2 separate regions of the Homo sapiens genome follow, and region 2 is linked to region 1. Evidence: promoter capture Hi-C in 16 types of primary human blood cells and fetal thymus (Javierre and others, 2016). All regions are on one chromosome and are shown on one strand. The core of a region is centred on a gene start or on the middle of the fragment in contact, and the rest is flanking DNA. Distances in the headings are between cores, read along the strand shown.

Evidence for each region. The method cuts DNA at HindIII sites, captures the fragments that hold promoters and counts their contacts. A CHiCAGO score of 5 or more calls a contact.
Region 2: a contact is called between the fragment with the promoter of TDP2 here and the fragment with the promoter of H2BC3 in region 1, in 1 of 17 cell types (M1 macrophages). The highest score is 6.7, in M1 macrophages.

The regions. Positions count from the first base shown.
Region 1 is chr6:26,040,413-26,046,092 of GRCh38, forward strand. It overlaps H2BC3 (H2B clustered histone 3), which reads right to left and starts at 3,301. Exons shown (of 1, transcript NM_021062.3): 1 at 2,815-3,301. The coding sequence starts at 3,245. The coding sequence ends at 2,865. H3C3 (H3 clustered histone 3) reads left to right here and starts at 4,972. Exons shown (of 1, transcript NM_003531.3): 1 at 4,972-5,457. The coding sequence starts at 4,999. The coding sequence ends at 5,409. It also overlaps the pseudogene H2AC5P. RefSeq lists enhancers at 3,545-3,784, 5,015-5,334. The HindIII fragment of the contact is 16,277 bases long and covers 1-5,680 here.
Region 2 is chr6:24,663,592-24,669,271 of GRCh38, forward strand. It overlaps TDP2 (tyrosyl-DNA phosphodiesterase 2), which reads right to left and starts at 3,308. Exons shown (of 7, transcript NM_016614.3): 1 at 3,107-3,308; 2 at 2,935-3,020. The coding sequence starts at 3,271. ACOT13 (acyl-CoA thioesterase 13) reads left to right here and starts at 3,486. Exons shown (of 3, transcript NM_018473.4): 1 at 3,486-3,753. The coding sequence starts at 3,673. It overlaps LOC124901279 (a long non-coding RNA gene), which reads right to left. Exons shown (of 2, transcript XR_007059509.1): 2 at 5,526-5,680. RefSeq lists enhancers at 2,354-3,026, 3,027-3,698, 3,230-3,524. The HindIII fragment of the contact is 8,130 bases long and covers 2,216-5,680 here.

The sequences.
Region 1 (5,680 bases), core at 2,051-4,550:
GACCAACATGGAGAAACCTCATCTCTAATAAAAATACAAAATTAGCCAGGCGTGGTGGCGCTTGCCAGTAGTCCCAATTACTGGGGAGGCTGAGGCAGGAGAATTGCTTGAACCCTGGAGGCGGAGGTTGCGGTGAGCCGAGATCGCACCATTGCACTCCAGCCTGGGCAACAAGTGTGAAACTCCGTCTCAAAAAAAAAAAAAAAAAAAATCTTAGAAATGTAACTGACATATCATAAGCCCTCAAACTTAATAATCTTTTAATACATGGAGCTATCTATTTAAAATAATGTACATAAGGCAACATCCCAAAAGAAAATGGGCAAGAATCATGAGTAATCAAACCATAATAGAAGAAATGTTATTATCAAAATGTGCAGTCTCAAACAATAATTGTCTTAAAAATAAAAACAACAATGAGATTTAATTGTTCATGTCGGCAATTTGAACAGACTAACACACCCACTGTTCAAGAGCATTTGTGGAAGTCAGGAAAAAACACCCTGTTGGTGAGAGTGTAAACAGACCTTCAGGAGGCAACTTGGTAACATGTATTAAAAATCAAAATATGTATATCAATGGATGCATGATTCCTATCTCTATTTTTGCCCTTACAGCAATCTTGTGTGTAGAGAAATACTGAAAAGCATTTTCATGGTAACATGGTTTAAATTTTTAAAAAGCGAAGGTCAGTGAATAAAGGGCAATTATCTACTTCCCTACAATGAAATGCAGTAATGAAAATAATCATTAGAATCTCTTTTATTAATTTAAAAGGATACTAGAAAAGTGAAATACAATCTCACTTATAGAAGATTTACATATTGGTTTGCATAGACTTGCACAAGATAAAATTTCTGTAAGATTGGTCACCAAAATGTCCTGAATGATAACATTACAATTAATGTTTATATTGTAGGGGAAAAGAAAATTCTGTTTTTCTCACCCATCAGTAAGTTCATGCTTGAGGCCCCTCTACAAAAAGACAGATTGGTCGGGTGCAGTGGCTCACGTCTGTAATCCGAGCACTTTGGCAGGACGAGGCGGGCGGATCACGAGGTAAGGAGATTGAGAACATCCTGGCCAACACGGTGAAACCCTGTCTCTACTAAAAATACAAAAATTAGCGGGGCATGGTGGCACGTATCTGTGGTCCCAGCTACTCGGGAGGGCGAGGCAGTAGAATCGCTTGAACCTGGGAAGCGGAGGTTGCAGTGAGCCGAGATCGCGCCATTGCACTCCAGCCTGGGTGACAGAGCAAGGCTCAGTCTCAAAAAACAAAAAAAAAGATTAGCAAGAGAAAAGCATACAAATGTATTTAATATAAGTTTTATATTACATGGGACCCTTCGGAAATGAAAACTCGAGGGAAGCGGGAAACCTGTGAATTTTTATGGCAAGTTTTGTGAAATGCATAGTTGTGGATTAATATGATTGACAGTAGGCATATGATCTAATGGTAATAAACTGAGGGGGACATAGCAAGGCTTGTTTGTTAATTACCTATTAACGATCAGCCGAGTATCAGCAGAGACAGCAAAACATCCTAGTTTTGAGTTAGAAGACCTAGGTTTTTGTTTTGGCTTATCAATTATGGGTATTGTTTTAGATGAAACATCAAGTATTCTTGATTTCTTATTTCAAAAATAAAAAATAAAAAATAAAGGAAGGAAAAAAGAAGAAAAAAAGAGAAGAAAAGTGTCAGAGTTACTTGAACCAGAGTAACTCCATTTTGAGTGAGGGCTAGGAAAATGAGGCTGAGACTTTCTGGGCTGCATTCCCAGAAAGTCAGTCATTCCTAGCTTCTAGATGTTTACGGTTAAGGGAACAAATAAATAATGTTTACTAAACAGACTCAGACTTAGGAGTGTCCAGATATCCCTATATCTGGAGAACAAAGGCATTCTTAATTTTGTTTAAAGATAATAATGTTGATTCTTGCAAAATATAGTAACTAAGAAAATTAATCCTTTATCACAAACTTGTAGCAGAGCACATCTCCCCATATATACAAGTATTGTACCTAGGGTGGATGCCTTCCTCCTCTTACTTTCGGGAATGTCCTGCTCCGTCTATGGAGTAGTTGTCGTTTCACCACTTTACTTTCTTAGTAAACTTGCATTTACTTTGCACTGCGGACTCACCCTGAACTCTTTCTTGCGCGGGATCCAAGAACCCTCTCTTGGGGTCTGGATGGGGACCTCTTTCCTGTAACATATTTCTGGCCACCACAGAAGGGACTATAGTACAGAAACCCTGACCCAACAGCTACCTTTGGGTAAGTGTTGGAGTTCTGTAACAAAGGAAGAAGGCAGGCAGGCAAAAAATTTATGAAAGAACATACGACAAAATAATTTCTGCTTCAAAACTTCATATTTTTTTAATTTTTTTTTTTTTTTTTTTTTGAGACGGAGTCTCGCTCTGTCACCCAGGCTGGAGTGCCATGGCGCGATCTCGGCTCACTGCAAGCTCCGCCTCCCGCGTTCACGCCATTCTCCTGCCTCAGCCTCCCGAGTAGCTGGGACTACAGGCGCCCACCATCACGCCCAGCTAATTATTTTGTATTTTTAGTAGAGACGGGGTTTCATCGTGTTAAGCAGGATGGTCTCCATCTCCTGACCTCGTGATCCGCCCGCCTCGGCCTCCCAAATTGCCGGGATTAAAGGCAAGAGGCACCGCGCACGGCCCCGTCCAAGTTAACCTTGGCTCTAAAACTTGTCTTCGCTAACATTCCAGTTGATCCTCTAGAACTGAAACAGAATAGCAGCAGCACCACCTTAAGAAATTGTGGTTATAGCTCTCCTTGTGACAAAGTAGGTGGCTCTGAAAAGAGCCTTTGGGTTTGGAAGTGCTTACATAAGCACTTATTTAGAGCTAGTGTACTTGGTAACTGCCTTAGTGCCCTCGGACACAGCATGCTTAGCCAGCTCCCCAGGCAGCAGCAGGCGCACAGCCGTCTGAATCTCCCTGGAGGTGATGGTCGAGCGCTTATTGTAGTGAGCCAGGCGAGAAGCCTCGCCCGCGATGCGCTCGAAGATGTCGTTGACGAAGGAATTCATGATCCCCATGGCCTTGGATGAGATGCCGGTGTCGGGGTGGACCTGCTTCAGAACCTTGTACACATAGATAGAATAGCTCTCCTTGCGGCTGCGCTTACGCTTCTTACCATCCTTCTTCTGCGCCTTAGTGATAGCCTTCTTAGAACCCTTTTTAGGGGCTGGAGCAGACTTAGAGGGTTCAGGCATTGCTATTCCTAAACAGAATAGAAAAGCTACTAACACTCTCCACTACAGAGTAGTACAGAGAACAGTTCAGAGCCCATGTATTTATAGTCCTGAGATTCAAATGACGGTTTAAGATTCCTCACTTCTGATTGGACAAAAGAAACACGGTTTCACTGAGGGGTGGGGTTTATGCAAATATGGAATTTATGTTATCTTTTTCTATTGGATAAAGCACCAAACATAATTGACCAATAGGATAGCTTCCTATTGCAGCCTTGCAGTTTGTATAAAAGGATTTGTTCAGGCGCCATTCCAGCTTGCTTGTCTTTCACAGTTTTCCGCTGCTTTCATAGGTCGCTATTTGCGGACGTGGAAAATGGAGCTAAAGCAAAAACTTGTTCGTCGCTACCGGGCTTGCAGTTCCCAATAGGGCAGAGTCCGTCATCTTTTTCGAAAGGGCAATTATTTTGAGCCGGTCGGAGCCGGTGCGCCAGTGTACTTACAATACCTGGCCGCCGAGATCTTAGAACTGGTGGGCAGCGCCATACGTGACAAGACCCGCAGCATCATCCCCCGCCACCTGCAGCTGGCCATCCGAAACGACGAGGAGGTCAACAAGCAGCTGGGCAACGTCACTATTGCTCAGGGAGGCGTCCTGTCCAATATTCAGGCCGTCCTGTTGCCAAAATAACAGAGCCACGATAAGGCCAAGGTCAAGTAAACACTCAAATCAGAAAACGTAGCTTACACTTGAAACGGCATTTTTCAGAGCCGTCCATAGTTACACAAGAAAGGATGATAACTTGCTTCTGTTAGGGTATTTTTTGCTTTTCGTTTGGATTGGTTTGTTTTGAGACAGTCTAGTTCTGTCACCCAGGCTGGAGTGCAGCGGCGCGATATCGGCTTACTGCAACCTCCACCCCGCCGCTTCACGCGGTTCTCATGCCTCAGCCTCCTGTGTACTTGGGATTACAGGCGTCTGCTACCGCGCCCAGCTAGTTTTTGTATTTTTATGCGAGACGGGGTTTCACCATTTTAGCCAGGGTTGTCTTGAACTCCTGGCCTCTAGTGATCGTCCCATCTCGCCCTCCCAAAATGCTGGGATTACAGGCGTGAGCCACCGCCCCCCTAGCCTAATGGTGTTAAAAAGTTAAGTTTCGAGAAAATAACACCTTCCTTTAGAAAGTACATTTTAGAGTATACAAAGTGAAACTTAAGGCCAACCAAAATAAGACATTTTGAGAACAGGCAGGGTGGGAATGTGACTTGGACTTAGAAAACAAAGGGCAAGGAAACTTGCTGTTCGCCAGTAACAAAATAGCATGGAATCTCATTCTCTGAATATAAGCGTTATTTCCCGACATGAGTCTGAACGTTTCTGGTGGTTTAGTGAGTGTTCACCAGCATTGATAACTTGCGAGACTGTCAGGAATGCAGAATTTCAAGTCCCACTCAAACTTACTGAATCGGAATTTACATTTTAAAAATCCTTAGATACCTTGTTATACACTCTGTTCTTTGGGACTGGATGAACTAGAATTTTAGACAATTTGTCGCTGCAGATAACTGAAACGAAAAGGACAGGATGGGCGGTGGGGCAACTCATCCAATAAGATTGTCTAGTAATGAACCAATCAGTCTGGTCACTCTTCAGCCAATGATTTTATCGCGCGGGACTTTTGAAATATTACAGGACCAATCAGAATGTTTCTCACTATATTTAAAGGCCACTTGCTCTCAGTTCACTACACTTTTGTGTGTGCTCTCATTGCAAATGGCTCGTACGAAGCAAACAGCTCGCAAGTCTACCGGCGGCAAAGCTCCGCGCAAGCAGCTTGCTACTAAAGCAGCCCGTAAGAGCGCTCCGGCCACCGGTGGCGTGAAGAAACCTCATCGCTACCGCCCGGGCACCGTGGCCTTGCGCGAAATCCGTCGCTACCAGAAGTCCACCGAGCTGCTGATCCGGAAGCTGCCGTTCCAGCGCCTGGTGCGAGAAATCGCCCAGGACTTCAAAACCGACCTGCGTTTCCAGAGCTCTGCGGTGATGGCGCTGCAGGAGGCTTGTGAGGCCTACCTGGTGGGACTCTTCGAAGACACCAATCTGTGCGCTATTCACGCTAAACGCGTCACCATCATGCCCAAAGATATCCAGCTGGCACGTCGCATCCGTGGGGAAAGGGCATAAGTCTGCCCGTTTCTTCCTCATTGAAAAGGCTCTTTTCAGAGCCACTCACAATTTCACTTAAAAACAGTTGTAACCCATTCGGTTGTCTATGTTAGTTTCCAGGAGATATAAAGGTGATAACTACACACAAGTTTTGTAACTGCAGACAAGTCTATCAGGCCTTTTCAACCGGTTTTACTGCGAGAAAACAAGCTGAGTTACTGTTTTGCCCTTGTTAAAAAATTCCTAGGGGTCTTTTTAGCATGTATATGTGTAAATACTTACATATTGA
Region 2 (5,680 bases), core at 2,058-4,557, 1.4 Mb before region 1:
GTCTTGGTGCTATCTTCACGATACTGAGTTCTTCTTGCAAGATCTGGTTGTTTAAAAGTATGTGGCACCACCCCACCCCCTTGCTCCTGCGCTCTCCATGTGATACCTGGGCTCCCCTTTCCCTTCTGCCATGATTGAAATCTTCCTGAGGCCCAGCAGAGGCTGGGGCCATGCTTCCAGTAGAGCCTGCAGAACTGTTAGCCAATTAAATCTCTTTTCTTTATAAATTACCCAGTCTCAGGTATTTATAGCAACACAAGAACCTAATACAAATATCTCTGCAATTTATGCAACACCCACAATATTTAATATTTAATGCAGCAAGAAAAACCAGGCAACTGTATTAAAAATTTCCTTTTGGAAAAATGAAAAGGGAAATAAACTCTAAAACGTTGCTGTACAGAAATACTAAGGGAACAGAAAGGGACTGGCAAACTTTAGGGGCATGATTTGTTGACTTCATTCCTAAGCAGAGGAGGAAGTGCTTTTGTCAGTATATCTGGTGTCTTAGGTTTTATGTGTTAGGCCAGTGCTCCTCAATTTTAAATCACCTGGAGATCTTGTCAAAATACAGATTCTGATTCAGTAGGTCTGGGTGAGACCTAAGATTCTGCATGTCTAACAAATTCCCGAGTAGCAGTGGCACGCTGCTGGTCCAGAGTCCACACTCTAAATAACAAGGCTCTGGGACACGGGCTTTCAATGCTGGCTCTGCATTAGAATTACCTGCACAGCTAATAAAAAAAAAAAAAAAAGCCAATAAGGAATAATGGGCCCCACTCAAGACTAATGAAATTAGAATCTCTGGTTTTTTTTTTAAATTCCCCAGATAATTCCAATATGCAGCTAAGATTCAGCATAGCTGTTTTAAGAGGATTTCCCTTGTCTCTCATCAGAGACACTGAAGATAGATTCTAATGTAGGGGACTAAATCACTTTAGTGTTCAATTTCAATTTTTGTTGATATCCCAGGAATTCACTCCAGAATTGAGATTCCTGCGCCATTCATTTAAGACAGCCAATGCCCTTGCTCAGCAGGGTTGAGTTTTTCTGGTCATAAAATCTTCCAATCAATTTTTTTTTCCCTTTCATTTTTGCTAAAGCCAACATCAAAAATCTAATCAGGTCACAGGCCTTAGAAACACGCTGAAGTTTGCCCCTTCCCCATTTTTCTCTCTTGAGCAAACTAAACTTTAAAACCTCACTCTCATTCATACTTGACCTGAGTTCTGAGAGACAAGAGACCACAGCCTAATCAACACCTTTGCTTGTTTTTGCCAATTTACCATTCCGGGGTAAGAGAATCCTAATAGCCATGACACCATTGATCAGCTTGATCCGCATCTTTTCTGAGGGCCTATTACAGGAAATCCACTTATTTTGTTACTATTTATTGGTTACAATATAGTCTGTTGCAACCAACAGACATTAACTCAGGTTGGTTTGACCAAAACAGGAGAATTTATAAGGAAACAAACATGTCACAGAGCCTGGTACAGAAATACAGCCATGTTTAAGGAAGGGCAGTTAAGGGCTTTCTCTCAATCCTACACTTCAACTTCCCTCTGCTTCATTGTCTCTCTGCAGACCTCTGTTCTCAGCTTCTCTGTACACAAAAAAAGATATGTATGAATCCTCACAGGTGCTAAGTTAACATGTTACAGTTCCAGCTCCATAGGAAGACTCAGACTTGACTCTCTTGGTCCTAATTCTGAAACCAAGGAGAGGATCTGACTGGCCAGTTTGAGCTAGGCAAACACCTCCTAGTCCAACTTGCTCTGGTTAGTAAAACGGGAGCCAGAGACAAATCACTGTGGGTGAGTAAACAATTCCCCAACAAGAGGCAAGACAGAGAAAGGAACCTAAAGAAAATATCTTATCACATCTGTAAGCCAGTGTAGCTGAAAAGACCAAAGGGAAAATAAAGTCTCCACTATGAACAGTCAATTTTACAGGTTGTACATATAGCTGGGAGAATTTTATACATTCAGTAAATATTTATTGGGAGCTTATTATGTGTCAAATGTTGTGTCAGACTTTGGGAAATTAACAATGTACAAAACAGATACTCCTTACTAGATGTGCAGTCTAGTAGGAGACATAAAATAATGAACAGCAATTATAATACGGACTAAGGTATTGTAACAGGGGTCATGCAGGATGCTATAAGAGTACCTAAAAGGGGACTCTTACCCAGACTTAGGACATCAGGAAAAGCTTCCTAGAGATAAATCATGTCTCAGCTTGGGGCTTTAAGACAAATATTAGCAAGGAAGGGAAAAGAAAAAAATTCCAGGCACAGGTAATAAAGATCTTTACGAAGTTTCAAAGACAGGAGAAAATGACCCGTTGGAAAAAAGTAAAAGTTTGATAGGCCTGGAACCTGGAAAGGCAGGTTCTAAGTTATGGAGCCAAATAGTAGAGGGCCTTGTAAGGCAGCTACACTTTTTAAGTGCAGGAACTGGAGAGGGGCACTGAAATAACAGGAGTAGGTGTGCATTAAAAAAAAATAACAACAACAACAAACCTGTTATTCTGGCCGGTCAGCCTAGGGCCTAGAATAAATAAACAATACAGGAAGCAAGGAGACTTCCAAGTTGCCATTTTTCGATAGAAGGTTTAGCCTTCGTTCATTTGTTTCAAACCTCTCGCTTACTTATTTCCTTTCATTTGAGTTAAACATTACATTTCCATCTTTTCCTCCCTGGACCCCAAATCACGTTCGAAGCGACAGTCTGGTGCAGTGTTAGATCCGCTGCTGGGGCGCAACTCCGCGCAGCAGCAGCAACGCAAGCCCTGCTCCTCTGGCTACGCAGCTTGGAGATCTGCCTCAGCATCGTCCGCCCAGCTCCACGGCAGGTCCCAGGACGCGCAGGGCTACCTGGTATCAAACTGCCTCCGTGCGGACTGGCTCCCGCTCCCCTCATCACTTACTAGGTCTTGGGCTCAGAGATGGTTTCAGGTCGGCGTTCCAAGGCGCTCTCCTCCACCGGAGGCTCGAAGTAGGAGTTCAGAGCCCTCTGAAAAACAAAGGCACAAGGGATGAGGTTTGTGCGCTCCACCGACCTAGGTAATGGAGCCGGAAGCGAGGACAGCGAAAGCGTACTTCCATCTCCCAGTCGTTCTCGGCCAGGAAGCACTGAGCCACTGCGGCATCGCAGCTTGCGACCGAGGCAAACTCCACACACAGAAGTCGCCGCTTTTTCACCTCAGGCTCGCCCTCTTCCTCCGCCGCCTCCCTCCCGCCCTCCAGGCAACTCCCCAACTCCATCTTCCTGCCGCCTCTGCACCGCCCCTTTAAGCGGAACAGGAGGCCAACGCGCGGCTCTGCGCAGGCGCCTGTGTCATGGCGCTCCCGCATCAACCGCCCGGCGGGGAAATGCGCTGCTCTCGGAAAACTGGTGCAGCTGCGCCGCAAGGGAGCCGCCGGGGCGGTGGGTGCGAAGCGCGCATGCGCGCTTCGTCACAAGGGTGCGAGGAAAGTCAGTGAGCAAATCGCGGACCACCGGGGCTGCCAGCTCGCCTGACTCCCGGCCTCTTGCGCTCCTAGGGGCGGAGAAGGGTGCGGGCTCTTCGCCCTTTGTGTCCTCCTTCTTTCACTAACTTCTGGACTTTCCAGCTCTTCCGAAGTTCGTTCTTGCGCAAAGCCCAAAGGCTGGAAAACCGTCCACGATGACCAGCATGACTCAGTCTCTGCGGGAGGTGATAAAGGCCATGACCAAGGCTCGCAATTTTGAGAGAGTTTTGGGAAAGGTATGGGAAAGGTAGGGGAGAAGCCGTGGCTTCTAATGAAGGAAAAGAAAGCACCGTGCTTGGTGCCGTTGTGAGCTTTGAATAATTATCTCTTGTTAGGTTGTGTTCTAGTACGCCTGTAAATTCACCTTAGTAATAATGATTATTACTTTAATGGAGCCCCTAAATATGCTGGGTCGAACGCGTAAGTTCTCTATCTAAACATAGATAAGTATGGTTATGACTCGTGGAGACAGTTCCAAGGCTGGGAGGGACTTTGGAGTTTGATCCTTCAACCAACAAACGTCTGCATTGCTCCAGAGAAGAGTAAGAGAAACCTCTGCATTTAAGGCACATTACAGTCTAATTCTCTAGGCTCTAGAAGATTAGAAGATAAATAATTGCAATAAGGTACAAAAGCCAAGTGCTTGGTAGAGTGGTGAACGAAGGGAGAAGTTGTTCCTCTGTAGTGGTTTGGGAAATTTCTCAAAGGCACCCAACTCCTGAAGAAGTAAGTTAGCCCTTGGAGGAAGACTGAGTGCTTTTCTGAGACCAGCACTCACAAAGCCCGAAGGTGTTTGTTTGTTTTTGTTTTTTTAGGATGAGGTTTCGCCCTTGTTGCCTAGGCTGGAGTGCAATGGCGCGATCTCGGCTCACTGCAACCTCCACCTCCCTGGTTCAAACAATTCTCCTGCCTCACTCAGCCTCCCGAGTGGCTGGGATTACAGGCATGCGCCACCATGCCCAGCTAATATTGTACTTTTAGTAGAGACAGGGTTTCTCCATGTTGGTCAGGCTGCTCTCGAACTCCCGACCTCAGGTGAAACGCCTGCCTCCGCCTCCCAAAGTGCTGGGATTACTGGTGTGAGCCGCCACGCCAGACCTTGAAGGTGTTTGTTGTTGTTGTTGTTTTGAGATGGAGTCTTGCTCTGTTGCCCATGCGGGAGTGCAGTGACACGATCTCGGCTCACTGCAACCTCCGCCTCCTGGGTTCAAGTGATTCTCATGCCTCAGCCTTCCAAGTAGCTGGGATGATTACAGGCATGCGCCACCAAGCCTGGCTAATTCTTTATTTTTATTAGAGACAGGGTTTCATCATGTTGGTCAGGCTGGTCTCAAACTGCTGACCTCAGGTGATCCACCTGCCTTGGCCTCCCGAAGTGCTGGGATTACAGGCATGAGCCACCATGCCCCGCCAAAAGCAGGGATTTACTGAAAATGAAAGGACACTCCTGTGTTTGGGGTGTGGAGCAGCAGCTCAGGGGCCCTAATACCCCATTGAAGTCTCCTATTGGCCACTTGGTACTCATCTCATGTAAATGAAGTGGTGACCCACAATTGGCTGTGAAAAGCAACCAATGAAAGGCTAAAGTGAAGTTACAAAGTTGCCCTTATATGCAAACGAAGACGTGGCGTGCAATCAGATGGTGAAGTTACATAGTTACACTCCTATGGGAAGATCTGATTGGTTGCAGAAAGAATAATTTTTTTTAAGGGATAACTTACTTCTTAGCGTAATTTTGCTTTTTGCAACCAATCAGAGGTACTTTCAATTTCCCATCTGCCACACAGAAAAGGTGGGGGTTTGGAAAGGGAGAAGCCTCTGGTTCTTTTGTTACTTGGTGTGGGAAGTTAGGGTTTTACTTTCAATTTAGTTCTAGGAAGTCAGCGTGAAACAGCCCTAGGTTCCCTGCCTCCAGATCCGATTCTCCTGCCTCGCTTGTAAGAAAATCATGCTCCATAAGAAGCATTTATAACTAAACCTTGTGAACCCCAAAAATTTGAGACAGGTATCAGTTAATTTAGAAAGTTTATTTTGCCAAGGTTGAGGATGCGCACGCAGTGACACAGCCTCAGGAGGTCCTGACAACATGTGCCCAAGGTGGTCAGAGCACAGCTTGGTTTTATGCGTTTTAGGGACATATAAGACATCAATCAATATATGTAA